Linked DNA regions of Homo sapiens: regions 1 and 3 are each linked to region 2. The links are contacts of gene promoters, found by promoter capture Hi-C in blood cells and fetal thymus (Javierre and others, 2016). All regions are on one chromosome and are shown on one strand. The core of a region is centred on a gene start or on the middle of the fragment in contact, and the rest is flanking DNA. Distances in the headings are between cores, read along the strand shown.

Evidence for each region. The method cuts DNA at HindIII sites, captures the fragments that hold promoters and counts their contacts. A CHiCAGO score of 5 or more calls a contact.
Region 1: a fragment that was not itself captured here is called in contact with the fragment with the promoter of KCP in region 2 in 1 of 17 cell types (naive B cells); the score reaches 5.0 in naive B cells.
Region 3: a contact is called between a fragment that was not itself captured here and the fragment with the promoter of KCP in region 2, in 1 of 17 cell types (naive B cells). The highest score is 5.4, in naive B cells.

Annotation. Positions count from the first base shown.
Region 1 is chr7:129,178,314-129,182,559 of GRCh38, reverse strand. No RefSeq gene overlaps it. Among named protein-coding and RNA genes, the nearest start is that of SMO, 8.2 kb to the left of the region's middle. The HindIII fragment of the contact is 1,602 bases long and covers 1,971-3,572 here.
Region 2 is chr7:128,908,313-128,913,081 of GRCh38, reverse strand. KCP (kielin cysteine rich BMP regulator) reads left to right here and starts at 2,373. Exons shown (of 40, transcript NM_001366122.1): 1 at 2,373-2,481; 2 at 4,514-4,656. The coding sequence starts at 2,406. It also overlaps the pseudogene LOC392787. The HindIII fragment of the contact is 11,148 bases long and covers 1,317-4,769 here.
Region 3 is chr7:129,210,018-129,214,677 of GRCh38, reverse strand. It overlaps SMO (smoothened, frizzled class receptor), which reads right to left. Exons shown (of 12, transcript NM_005631.5): 9 at 4,130-4,315; 10 at 3,565-3,713; 11 at 2,908-3,042; 12 at 1,133-2,654. The coding sequence ends at 2,227. Among named protein-coding and RNA genes, the nearest start is that of AHCYL2, 13 kb to the left of the region's middle. The HindIII fragment of the contact is 1,589 bases long and covers 1,306-2,894 here.

The sequences.
Region 1 (4,246 bases), core at 1,522-4,021, 270 kb before region 2:
GATCGAGACCAGCCTGGCCAACAGAGTGAAACCCTGTGTCTACTAGAAATACAAAAATTAGCCAGGCATGGTGGCACCCACCTGTAGTTCCAGCTACTTGGAAGACTGAGGCAGAAGAATTGCTTGAACCCAGGAGGCAGAGGTTACGGTGAGCTGAGATTGCACCACTGCACTCCAACTTGGGCAACAGAGACTCCATCTCAAAAAAAAAAAAAAAAGACTATATAAAAGAAAAAATAGAGAAATTGGACTTCCTCAAAATTAAGAACTTTTGTGCATCAAAGGATACTGTCAAGAAAGCAAAAAGACAACCTTTAGAATGGGAGAAAATACTTATGAAACGTATGTCTGATGAGACATCATATCCAGAATATATAAGGAACTCCTGAAATTCAGTAACAATAAAAAGAGAAACAACCCAACTAAAAAGGGGGCAAAGACTTGAATAGACATCTTTCCAAAGAAGATACACAACTAGCTAATAAACACATGAAAAGATGCTCAACATCATTATCCATAAGGAAAATGCAAATCAAAACCATTGTGAGGTACCACTTCACATTTATTAGGATGATTATAGATTTTTTTTCTTTTTTGAGACAAAGTCTCACTCTGCCCCCAGCCTGGAGTGCAGTGGTGCAATCTTGGCTCACTGCACCCTTCGCCTCCCAGGTTCAAGCAATTCTCCTACCTCAGCCTCCTGAGTAGCTGGGATTCTAGGTGCGCGCCACCATGCCCGGCTAATTTTTTTTTTTTTTTAGTAGAGATGGAGTTTTCACTATGTTGGCCAGGCTGCTCTTGAACTCCTGACCTCAAGTGATCTGCCCACCTTGGTCTTCCAAAGTGTTGGGATTGCAGGCGTGAGCCACCATGCCCAGCCAGGATGATCATAATTAAAGCAAGCAGAGAAAATAACAAGTATTGGTGAAGATGTGGATATATTGGAACCCTCATGCATTACTGGTGGAAATGCACAATGGAGCAGCTGCTGTGGAGGACATTTTGGTGGTTTCTCAAAAGGCTAAACATAAAACTAACATGTGATCCAGCAATTCCACCCCTAGGTATATGTAATCTGAAAGAATTGAAAGTGGAGACTTGAAGAGATATTTGTACATCAATGTTCACAGCAGTATTACTCACAATAGCTAAAGGGTGGGAGTAACCCAAGTATCTATCAATGGATGAATGGATAAACAAAACGTGGTATATCTATAATAATGGAATATTACTAAGCCGTAAAAAGAATGAAATTTTGATATATGGATAACATGGATGGACCTTGAAAACAATATGTTTAGTGAAATAAGCCAGACACAAAAGAACAAATATTGTGTGATTCCACTGATTTCAGGTGCCCAGAACAGGCAAATTCATAGAAATAGAAAATAATAGAAGTTTCCAGGGGCTGGGGAAAGTGGTAAAAGGGAGTCTATTGTTTAACAGGTACAGAGTTTTTGTTGAGGATGATGAAAGAGTTTTGGCTATAGATGGTGATGGTTATGCAACATCATGAATATATTTAATGCCACTGAACTGTAAATTTACAAATACTTAAAATAATAAATATGGACGCCAGGCACGGTGGCTCATGCCTGTAATCCCAGCACTTTGGGAGGCCAAGGTGGGTGGATCATCTGAGGTCAGAGGTTTGAAACCAGCCTGGCCAATGTGGTCAAACCCCATATCTACTAAAAATACAAAAATTAGCCAGGCATGGTGGCATGTGCCTGTAGTCCCAGCCACTTGGAAGGCTGAGGCAGAAGAATCACTTGAACTCAGGAGGCAGAGGTTACAGTGAGCCGAGACAGAGCAAGACTCTGCCTCAAAAAATAGTAACAATAATAAATATTATGTTAGATATACTTTACTACAATTTTTTAAGAAAGAAAAAAGGGAAAAAACAAGTGTATTTTTACTTAGCTGTAAGGAGTCTAATGAAGATTAGTGCGAAGTAACATGGAAAAGCTTGGTTCTTACGTGCTTAAGAACTACTGGTTTCACTTACCTTTTCTTTCTTCTCCAACATCCATCTTATGGTACCATCTCAGTGGTTTCTGGAATTCCAACTAGTTGCCAACATTGTAGAAATGTGGCTGGTTTGGGAAAGGTAATCTTATCCCATACCAGTCTGTGACTGCAAACTGAGATATTAGGTTTCAGGTCTTTTCTGGGTAGTGACAGTTCTTTTTTTTTTTTTTTTTCAGATGGGGTCATATATTGCCTAGTCTGCTCTCAAGCTCTTTGGCTCAAATGATACCCCCTCACCACCTCAACCTTCAAAATTGCTGGGTCTACAGGTGCAAGGTCACTGTGCTGGCTGACAGTTCTGTTTTCATACTGAAGAATGTAGTTCTCTTCTCAGTAAATGGCACCACTGTTCACCCAGCTGCACGGGCCAAGATCCTTGGAGCCATATATGCCTCTTCTCTTTCTCTAACATCTCACACCGAGTCATCAGCAAATCCTGACAGCTACACCTTCAAAATATATCTAGACTCCAATTACTCCTTGTCCCCTTCACACTGCCACCCTCTTCTGAGCTACAGTCACTTGTCCTCTGGGCCACTCCAAGAGCTAACAGCTTTCCTGTTTCCCCTTACCCTCCTACAACCAATTCTGCATTCAGGCGCCAGGGTCATCCTTCTAAAATATGTCTGACTATATCGTTCTTGTGTTCAACACTCTGATGGCATTTCATCACACTTAGAGTAAAATTTCAATTTCTCATCAGGACTTCACCAACGTCCCGCTAACCCCTGGCAACCTCCTGGATCTCATTTGCTCACACCACCTTGAACATGCTGTCCTTTTTACTGATTAATGGGTACAGTTTTTGCTGTGTGTCCTTACACACACCAAGCAAGCACTTGCCTCAGGATCTTGGCACTCAGGCTTATTCTTATGTTCTCATTTAGGTCCATTCAAATACCCTTTCTCAAGAAGGCATTCCTAACAAACTGCTCCAAAGAAAATGAAATACTTGACTGGGCACAATGGCTCATGCCTGTAATCTCAGCACTTTGGGAGGCCGAGGTGGGTGGATAACCTGAGGTCAGGAGTGCAAGACCAGCCTGGCTAACATGGTAAAACCCCATCTCTACAAAAATACAAAAATTAGCTGGGCATGATAGCAGGTGCCTGTAATCCCAGCTACTGGGGAGGCTGAGGTAGGAGAATCACTTGGACCCAGGAGGCAGAGGTTGCAGTGAGCCGAGATCATGCCATTGCACTCCAGCCTGGGCAAAAGAGTGAAACTTGTCTCAAAAAAAAAAAAAAAAGAAAGAAAGAAAGAAAGAAAGAAAAAAAAATGAAATACTTAAGTACAAATCTAACAAAATTTATAAAGAATCTATATGATGAAAATTATAAAATGGGGATGAAAGAAATCAAAGGCAACCTAAATCCTTGGAGAGGCATACTATGTTCATGAATCAAAAGATCAAACATAGCAAAGATGTCACTTTCCCCTAGGTTGATTCCCTAAGCCTCTAGGTTTAACAAAATTCCTATCAAAATCTCAAGTTTTGAGAAAGAAAGAAAACAAGTTTCTCTGTAGACATAGACAAGCTTATTCCAAAACTAATATGGAAAGTGAAAGGCCTTGCTCAATTTTTGACAAAGATTAAAGTGGGAGGAATCGCTGGCTGATATTAAGGCTGACTATATAGTTACAGCAATCAAGACAATGTGGTACTGGTAGAAAGATAGACACATAGATCAATGTAGCAGAATAGAGAACCCAGAAATATGCCCACATATATGGCCAATTAGTTTTTGACAAAGCAGCAAAAGCAGTTCAATGGTGGAGGAGAACTTTTTCAATAAATGGTGCTAGAGCAATTACATATCCATATGCAAAAAAATAAAAATAAAATAAAACTCTATGTAAACCTCACACACCTTAAACAAAAATTAACTCAAAACAAATCATGCACTTAAATGTAAATATAAAACTTCTAAAAAACACATAGAAAATCTTCAGGACTCATACCAGGCAAAGAGTTCTTAGACTTGATACCAAAAGCACAACCCAGAGCCAGGCACAGTGATGCACACCTGTAGTCCCAGCTACCAGAAGGCTGAAGCAGGAGGATTACTTGAGCTCAGGAGTTCAAGGCTGCAGTGCTCCATTATTGCAGCTGTGAACAGCCACTGCACTCCAGCCTGGGCAACATAGACCTTATCTCTAAAGAAGTTAAATAAAAGTAAAATAAAAAATAAAAAGCAAAACCGGAAGAGGAAA
Region 2 (4,769 bases), core at 1,124-3,623:
ACAACTCCATCCCCAAGTTCTCCTCAGATGCCAGCAAGGTGGTGACTCGGGGCCCTGGGCTGTCCCAGGCCTTCGTGGGCCAGAAGAACTCCTTCACCGTGGACTGCAGCAAAGCAGGCAGGTGGCGGGGGGAGGGCGTCTCCCGGGGTGTGAGCAAGAAGCCGTCAGGGAGCAGGGTGTGGGTCACAGTAGGGGACTCCCTGGTGTGAGCCTGTCCCTCTGCCTCCCTCTCCAGGCACCAACATGATGATGGTGGGCGTGCACGGCCCCAAGACCCCCTGTGAGGAGGTGTACGTGAAGCACATGGGGAACCGGGTGTACAATGTCACCTACACTGTCAAGGAGAAAGGGACTACATCCTTATCGTCAAGTGGGGTGACGAAAGTGTCCCTGGAAGCCCCTTCAAAGTCAAGGTCCCTTGAGTCCCAAAAGTGCCTCCCCAGCCTCAGCCCCCACCTCCAGCCAAACACACATTACATACACACACACACACACACAAATGTGCCACACCCAGACACACACACACAGAATCAGACACTACAAACACCTGCCTTGGGGGTGAAGTGAAGGCCCAGCCTCCCCACCCCACCGCACCCCAGGGGTTGGAGGACCTTTTCTGTGTCAGGACAGTGTCCCTCCCTGGGAATGTGATATGAGGGCCGACTGGGGCCAGGCTCAGTGGCAGAGGCTAAGACACAAGGGACTGGAAGGGGACTGTGGGGCGAGGGAAGCCCTGTGCATCCTCCCAGTGTGGTTTAGAGCTGCTCACCCTGATTCTCTCTGATTCTTTCTGTAAAATGGGGATGGAGGTGCCCCCATTCTTCATAAGGGAAGTAAAAATTGCTCATACCTCTGTGCCAAGCACCATGCATTACTAATCCTTACAAACACTCCATGAGGTGGGTGCTGTTAGAGCTCCAGTCACAGTTCAGAAAAATCAGCCACCAAAAGTGAAGTGACCAGCCAGAGGCCCCAGAGCAGAAAGCAAGAGCTCCAGGATGCGCCCTGGCAACCCTGCCAGAATCTGTGCTCTGAACCGTCCCACTACCCAGCCCCTCAGAGGACTTGCTTTCCAGAGGCACCCGGTCAATGAAAGCCACCTTCCTTAAACCTGCCAGGAATAGTGCTGCCGCTTCCTTGTTCCTCTTCTGGCTGGCTGGCCCTGGCTTTCCTCTGTGACCTCAGCTCCAGGCACTGAGGCCAGGTCTTAGCGTGGCATTGCAGCCTCCCTGCCCCCTGTGGCAAAGGCTCAGGTCCACTATGGGCCCAGACTCTGGGGCAGAGAAGCTGCCGTCTCCTTACTGAAGCTTTAAGCTTGGTGGAGAGTGGGCTGGGGAGACCTCAGTCCCTGCCTGGTCTAGGGGGAGGGGTGGCTTCCGACTTCTGGTCTTTATGACAGGGAGGGAGAGCTTTGGAAGGGTTCACAGCTCCGCCCTCAATGTTCCTTTTTGCCTGTGAGCTTCGCCTGTGAGACCCAACCCTCTGCTTCCCAGCTTCAAGGAGGAGTTTCCCAGCCTGTGGGCCCACAGGGACGGCTGTCCTCACTTCCTCCCTTTGGCCCCCTCTGCCTGCTGAGCCCAGGGCCCAGCCCTGCCCCCTACCCAGGCTCACCCCACAGCCAGGCCTGAGCTCAGGAGTGGGAAATGGGGCTGAGACCAGCCAGTGAAGGGCGGCCTTGGCATTTGGGGCCAAGCCTGGGACTGCTGGGGTGGGTAGGGGTGTTGAGTGGAGTTCAGGAAAGAAACTTATAGGGGAGAGAGGAAAACACTGGTCGTGTCCATGATTTCAGAGATCAGGAGTTCTTATTATTATTATTTGTTATTTACTGAGCATTTACCATCTCTCTACCGACTCTAAATTCTTTACTTATATAATCTCACTTAATGCTCACTGCAAGTCTATAAAGTAGATGTGGTGATCCCCAGTTTACAGATAGGGAAATTGAGGCACAGAGAAGTTAGTGGTCTAAGGCCACATGGAATTGGCTGAGCAGGGATCTAAACCCAGCTCAGTCTGCTTCTTCTGTAAACTTGTGAGAGAGAGGAAAAATCGATCTGGAAACCCTAGGGCGATGGAGTAACCTAAAAGGGCAGGGAGACTCTCTAGGATCCCGAGAGGGGTGGACTTGGGTTTATTTTCTTTTCAGGGTCTCCTCCTGGATCTTAAGCGGAGACAAGGCCTACACCCCCGTTGGGCTTCCTGCGAGCTGGAGCTGCTCTCTGGGGTCAGGACCGGCCGGGCCCGGGGCGGGTGGAGGTGTGCATGGGAAAGGCGCGCGCGGTGGGGGGTTTGAGCCCTCCCTGAACAAAGCCTGGGTGGGAGCGGCCTGTGTGTCCCCACCCCGCCTTCCCCAGCGCCTGCTGAGCCGCGACGACAGACGGCGAGCCGAGCGAGGCGGAGCTAGCATGGCCGGGGTCGGGGCCGCTGCGCTGTCCCTTCTCCTGCACCTCGGGGCCCTGGCGCTGGCCGCGGGCGCGGAAGGTGAGTCCAGGTGCGGGAGGCTTGGGGTCCGGCCAGGTGCGCCCCCTCCCTCCTATCAGCCCGGCCTGAGGGGGCCGAGAGGGGCTGGGGGCTCTGCTCTTAGCCCTGCCTGAGGTTCGCGCGCCTCCCTGGCCAGCTCCGTCCTCCCCGTCGGGGGAGCGAGCAGGGTGGGGAAGACCACGGCCAAAGCAGGGGGTTCAGGAGAGGGGGGCGGTTCCTGCAGCCGGCGGCGGGAGAGAGTGCGGCTGCCCTGGCATCTGGGAGTCTGAAGTTAATTATTTGTCTTGACGAAGGAGGGGGAGAAAAGGGGCCCGCTGTGGAAGCTGACTTTGCATCTGTGTCTGGCCCTCCCCGGAGCAGGACAGGCGGGAATGGAGGGCTCGGTGCCGGCACGGGGCCAGGGGAGGCTAAGAGGGGAACCCGGGACAATTCCTTGGGGACCAGCCAAGTTTGTGCCACTCGGAGCTCTTTCTGCAGGTCTCTCCAGGCGAGGCTGGCCCTAGCTTCACCTAGGGGTCCCAGAGGATTCAGCTTCTCCCGGGCTCCCATATCCTGCCTGCCTACTTAAGCAGAACTGGAGGAGTGGCCTGGGAGGAGGGGCCCTGGGCAGCAGGATGAGGCCCCACGGGAGTCTAGATTGGGTAGAAGGTTTCAGATGCTGAGACGCCCATCGTGGCCGCCCTCTGTGTGCTTGGGAAGGACTGAGACCGGGTGCCATTCCGGGTGACAGGATCCCCAGTAGAGGGACGGAGATGGGAAAGGGCACCTGGGGTTTGAGGGCCAGTATTCGCCCAGGGTGCGGGAACTGAGTTAGAATCCCTGATATAAGCCAGAAGTAGCGGGGCTGGAAAGGTGGGCGGTGCTTGTGATCCATCCCAGCGGGACTTGCTCCTGGGAGACTTCGGCTGTGTGATTCAGAAAGGTCGAGTGGAGAGAAGGGGCACAGATGGAGGCAGGGACGCTTTGTCTTCAGCCTTCTGAATGGAGATGGTGGAGAGAGGAGAAGGGGGGGATGTATTAGGGGACAACTCAGGCAACAAAATAGGGGAGCTGAGCCCCAGCTTTCTGGCTTAAGTAACTGGGTATGTGTGATGGCATTAACCAAGCCAGGGAACTTGGGACAAAGCAAGTTCAATTTTAGCCTAGAATCCCCTCTGCCTTTGATGGTGACAGTGGGTGACATTGTTCCCCTGTCTCACAGGCCTAGTGTCTGTGAGAAACCCTTTTAAGCCACTCCAGGCCTGGCCTCACTAATGAGCTGCCATGGTGGGAAAGACCCATCCCTCTCCCTCCTCCTCTCTCTGTTCCTATTGCCTCCGCTCCAGACCCTCAACTTCCCTGCCCATCCCTGCCTGGAGGAGGGACCTATGTCTGCCTCTTCCCCTCCTGCCTTTACTTTCTGGGCTGCAGGAGAAGGATCAAAGTGAAAAGGTGAAAGTGGCCGCCCCTAACCCCAGGCCAGAGCTCAGAGGTGCCCCGTCCCTCTTTCCTGGACATAGTGTCTTCTAGAAGCAGGGACAGGCTGTCTTCACTGGATCTGGTGTGTTCAAAGTTAGCAGGGGCCTTGCCAGCACATTTCTCACACCCTTCAGAAAATGCAGCCAAGTCCCACTTTTGAAGCCCACCCCACCCAATGTGGGAGCCCCCAGGAACCCCTGTCACAAGCCTGGAAAACCGTGCTCAGGGTTGGGGGCGGGAGCAGTTGTCCTTCCCTGAGCACATTCTCCAAAAGTTGTGGCCTTTCTGACAGGTGCAGAGAGTCAGGGGATGGGGGCTGCTCATGTTCTCCCTGAAAAGACTCTCAGCCAGACCCCAGACCCCTGAAAGCAGCTCCACCTGGCGCATGTCTGTGGCCTTCCCCTGCGTTTCAGCCTGTGCTGGCTTCCCGGCCCTGGATGGTGGGTGGGCAATTGGAGAGGGCAGGGTGCACAGGATGACCCCCTTCCCCTGTGGGTCAGAAGACAGAACCCAGAAAATGTGGCCAGGCCAGCCCCTCACCCTCAGGCCCACATGGGATTCTTGTGCCCTTCAGGTGGGGCTGTCCCCAGGGAGCCCCCTGGGCAGCAGACAACTGCCCATTCCTCAGTCCTTGCTGGGAACTCCCAGGAGCAGTGGCACCCCCTGCGAGAGTGGCTGGGGCGACTGGAGGCTGCAGTGATGGAGCTCAGAGAACAGGTACCATGGAGACAGTGCTGGTTTGCATTGGGTAAGGAGGGCTTCTCATAGTGGGAGGGAGAGAAGGAGTTAGGCTTGGAGGGGGGAGCCTAAAATAGAGCTCTTATCTGAAC
Region 3 (4,660 bases), core at 851-3,350, 300 kb before region 2:
AAATAAATAAATAAACAAACAAAAATTAGCTGGGCATGGTGGCACACGTCTGTAATCCCAGCTACTCGGGAGGCTGAGGCAGGAGAAATTCTTGAACCCAGGAGGCGGAGGTTGCAGTGAGCTGAGATTGTGCCACTGCACTCCAGCCTGGGCAATAGAGTGAAACTCTATTTCAACAACAAAAAAGAGTACTCCCCAAACAAGCCTGGTCTGTACTCCACAATACCCGCCAGGTCTGTGGGCACCAGCCCCTTTGCTACACAGACCTCCTTCTCTCATAATCCTGAGCCCTTGCACCCCAGTTCCCAGTCTTCTACTGATTATCTCATTGGAGGAAGTGGGGCTAACAGGCTTCCCTGACTGGCCAGGGGAGGAAGCTGTGGATCAGAATGCGTCTAGCCCAATGGACGTCCCTGGTAGAAGAAAGAGGCCCCCAGAGATGAGGTCCAGGAATGCCTCGAGGAGTCCTGCCCATCTCCACTCCCATCAGGCAGACACCATCACCCCAGGGGAAGCTGCATGCCTGTGCTCAATTATCTTGTGATCACTGCTCCGCGAGGCAGCCGTGGTCACAGAAGAGCTTTTGTTCATATAGAGCCGACTGGCTCAGGTGGACAGCCAGCACATGAGGGCGCCATCAGCCTGACATCTGACTGTCAGCCGTGGCCACATTAGCACAAAGCTCTTGGCCTTTCAGAGCACCCTCGGGAAGATGGGGAAGACCAAAAAGATTGGGACCAAGACAAGGTAAGGAGGCCAGGATCGGAGCCCATAGAAGAAAGAACGCACTAGCTGGGCGCGGTGGCTCACGCCTGTAATCCCAGCCCTTTGGAGCCCGAGGCGGGTGGATCACTTGAGGTCAGGAGTTCGAGACCAGCCTGGCCAACATGGTGAAACCCCCTCTTTACTAAAAATACAAAAATTAGCTGGGTGTGGTGGCAGGCACCTGTAATCCCAGCTACTCAGGAGGCTGAGGCAGAATTGCTTGAACCCAGGAGACGGAGGTTGCAGTGAGCCAATATCATGTCACTGCACTCCAGCCTGGGGGATAGAGTGAGACTTTTATCTCAATTAAAAAAAAAAAAAAGAGAGAGAAAGAAAAAGAAAAAAAAAAGGAAAAACACACCAAGAGTTTATACAAAAACCTTTTATTGACTGTATTTCTTCTCCCCATAACCTGGAACCCAGCCAGCATCTATGGCTTCCTGCTGTCTGATTCTTGAAAGTGGGGCCTTGGGAACATGTTTGGAGGCTATGGAAGGTGGGAATCTCCTCACCCACCGGCTATGCAGGTTGAAGGAAGCTTTCTTGCCTGGCTGAAGCTACGGCAGCTTCCCAGGGTAGCCCCTCAAGTCTAGAGGACCCATCCCCCACTAAATGGGTGTGAGGAAGAGATGATGCATCTTTCAGAGGCTTTGTCACTCACTGCTCCTATCCCACTCCAGACTGAGGCCCTAGAGCTGAACCAGTCTCTCCTGTGGAGATGGGGCCCAGCAGCGAGGGGAGGGGGTTAGAGGTGAGTGTGTGCAGCAGCTCTGGGTCCTCATCAACAAAAAGGAAACGCAAAGAGGTTGGCACCGCTGAAACTGAACTGAAATGGAACAGAAGAAGGAGGATATAGGAGAACAAAAGATGGGTTTGGGGTAGTGCCACCTATTAAGAGAGGACATGGCCCCTGTGGGAGCAGGTCCTTCCAGCCCCACAAACACCTGGGAGAGGAATACGGTGCCCTGGCCCTACTTAGACAAAGGACTAATGACACAGTCAACACTTTTGGACTGAGACTGCCAGGAAAGGGCACCCATCAGCCCAGAAAACGGCAGCCAGCCCTCATCTGCCAGACATAGGCTAGGCTGCCTCCCTGGCCACCAAAGCCCACTCTGGGAACTGTCACCTCTGCCTCCACCGTTCCTGCCCCACCACAAGCTCTGCATACCCCCTGCCCCGATGGAGCAGATGCTGCCAACCAGGCTGCAGCTGGCAGGGCAGAAACAAGGACCCTGAGCTCCAGGGCCCTGTCCCTGGGGTGAGGCCTCCCCATGGAGATGTTAGGCTCTTTCCCACAGTCCTGCTGCTTTGAGCCAGACATCCAGAACTCTCTTCGGAGGGCAGTCAGCCCACAGGTTCTCTGGAAGACGGGATCCTAGGGAAGCATGCTCGGTGAGGAAGAAGAGCCTTGAAGGTATTGGTTCCTCTCTTTCCTGTCCCAGGTCCTGCTCTGCAGGCTCAGAAGTCCGAGTCTGCATCCATGAGTTCTGTGTCCATCAGGTTGGTGCGGGAGTGAATAGGCCCCAGGCCCTGTCGGCGGCCATGAGCCCATGCCACGGGGGCCGGTGCACTGGGCAGAAATGGATCCTGAGGGGGACTGGGCTCTGGGCAGAATGGGTTGGAGACCAGGGTCCACGCTCCCTGTCGGCAAGAGTCCCCAGCTCCCCAGGCACCTGCAGCCACCAGGCATTTCTGCCGGGGCAGCTGAGGCAGTCGAGGAATGGTACTGGGGGCAGGGGCAGGGGGGTGAAGCTCAGGGGGCGGCGCCAGCGGGCACACCTCCTTCTTCCTCTTCCTCCTCTTCTTCTTCCGGCCCAGGCGCTTCTGCAGCTCTGGGGAGATCTCTGCCTCAACCAGCCACAGGTTGGCTTGTTCCTCTGGGGGCACTGACAGGAGGAGAGACAACACGAGCCTGGGGCCCTGGCTCTGTCCATGCCACCCCCGCTCCCCTGGGAGCACTTAACCTGTTAGTTCTGGGGCCCAGGTCTCTAGACTCTTAGAGCCTCAGCCCCACTCTTCAGATCCTCTGGGGCCTTTCCTTCCTCTTCCTCCTCCTCCGACAGCCCCTGTACTCCAGTCCCAGAAGCCCCCAGCCTCTGTGCTCCCCCCACCTTCCTCCAGAAGCTTGAACTCTCATACCTGGAGTTGCCACAGGGGTGACAGAAATATCCTGGGGCAGTATGGCTCCTCTCCGAGCCACCATCTTGGTGACATGCTGGGCCCAGGCAGAGGAGACATCAGCTGAGGGCTCATTGAGGTCAAAGGCCAAGCCCGCTGTGGGAATGGAAGGAAGGAAAGGAGAAGGAATAGTGACTTCCCGGTCCCTGGCAGTGCCTCCCATAGTCAGTGCCATTCATCTTCCCACAGCCAGTCCCTCCTGCTCACCAGAGAAAGCTCACCCTGTAACCACGGTGATCTCTACCCCTTCAGAATCTGAAGAGAAGGGCCTCACGTCCCCAAAGGGCCTAACTGGAGGCCAGAAATCCAGTTCTTGGAACCCTGACTTACTCTTGCCCAGGGAGAGCAACTGGAGAATTTATGAGAAGGGAGAGGGAGGGGAGTCTTCTTGGAACCCAAGCACCGGCAAGCAGACCCAGGGGCAGAAACAGAGAGGGGAGAGCCCCCCAGAGGGTAGGAGGGGCCGGGGGAAGAATGGGTGTGTGAGCGATGGAGGGAGCGCCTTGCTCCTCACAGTCGGTCTTCCAAATAATCTGTGTGCCCCCAGCAGGCTGGGAGAGACTAGCACATGGGCAGCGCGGGGCCAGGCGGCTCCGGTAGAGGAGGGGTGAGGCTCACCCACGGGCCCGTCGTGGGACACAGTGTGCATGCTGAAGGACAGCTCCTGGCCTGGGTTCTGCAGGAGCTCGTGCCGCTTAGAGAAGGCCTTGGCAATCATCTTGCTCTTCTTGATCCGCTTTGGCTCATCGTCACTCTGCCCAGTCAACCTGAGAGCAGAAGGGATAGGGAAGGAGCGTGAAGAAGCTGCCACTTCCCATCAAATCTTGGGAAGGGCCAGCGATGCCATTCTTTCCAGAGAAGGAGGCTCCCAAGGGCCTCAAGTCCTTCAAGGACTCAGGAGTAGAGGCCTTCTCTGCAAAGAAGTGGGGCCAGAATGCAGAGCTCCTGTGTGCCCAGCCCTCCAATCACTCCGCTCTTAAAAGGTGATGGCAGCTGGCTCTGCCCTTGGCCCAGGCCCAGGCCCAGGCATCAGGCCACCCAAGGACAGAAGGTGCCACCAGGGGGCAGCGGTGAACCACTGACCAAGGCTGTGCTAGAGGCAGGACCCGACAAAACCTAAAGATGGGGTCCCAAGGCTGAGGGTGAGGCGGGCAGGGCAGGAGGGGCTGGCTGCCATGCCCACCTGCACCAGGTACGCCTCCAGATGAGCAGCGTGGCCTTGGTCCAGACCCAGGTGCTCATGGCGATGCCAGTTCCAAACATGGCAAACAGGTTGATCTTCTCCACCAGAAGGCTCGGGCGATTCTTGATCTCACAGTCAGGGATGGGCTGCTTGGTGGGCAGCCCGATGGTCACATTGGCCTGACATCTACAGTGAGGGAACGTAGACAGGTGAGGCTTTCCTTTCTTTTCCTCTCTCTTTTTTTGAGATAGGATCTTGCTCTGTCACCCAGGCTAGAGTGCGGTGGCGTGATCACAACCCACTGCAGCTTCCAACTCCTGGGCTCAGGCAATCTCCTGCTTCAGCCTCCCAAGTAGCTGGGACTACAGGTGGGGTTTTCTGAGTCTACTGGGTAGACTCAGACAATCAATCCAAAAACTTTAGAAAGGGCTAAGCTCCACAGCACTGATCTCAACCCTGGGTGCTCATTAGAATCAACTGGGGAGCTTTTAATAGCTACTGATGCCTGGGACCCACCCTAGACAATTAAAT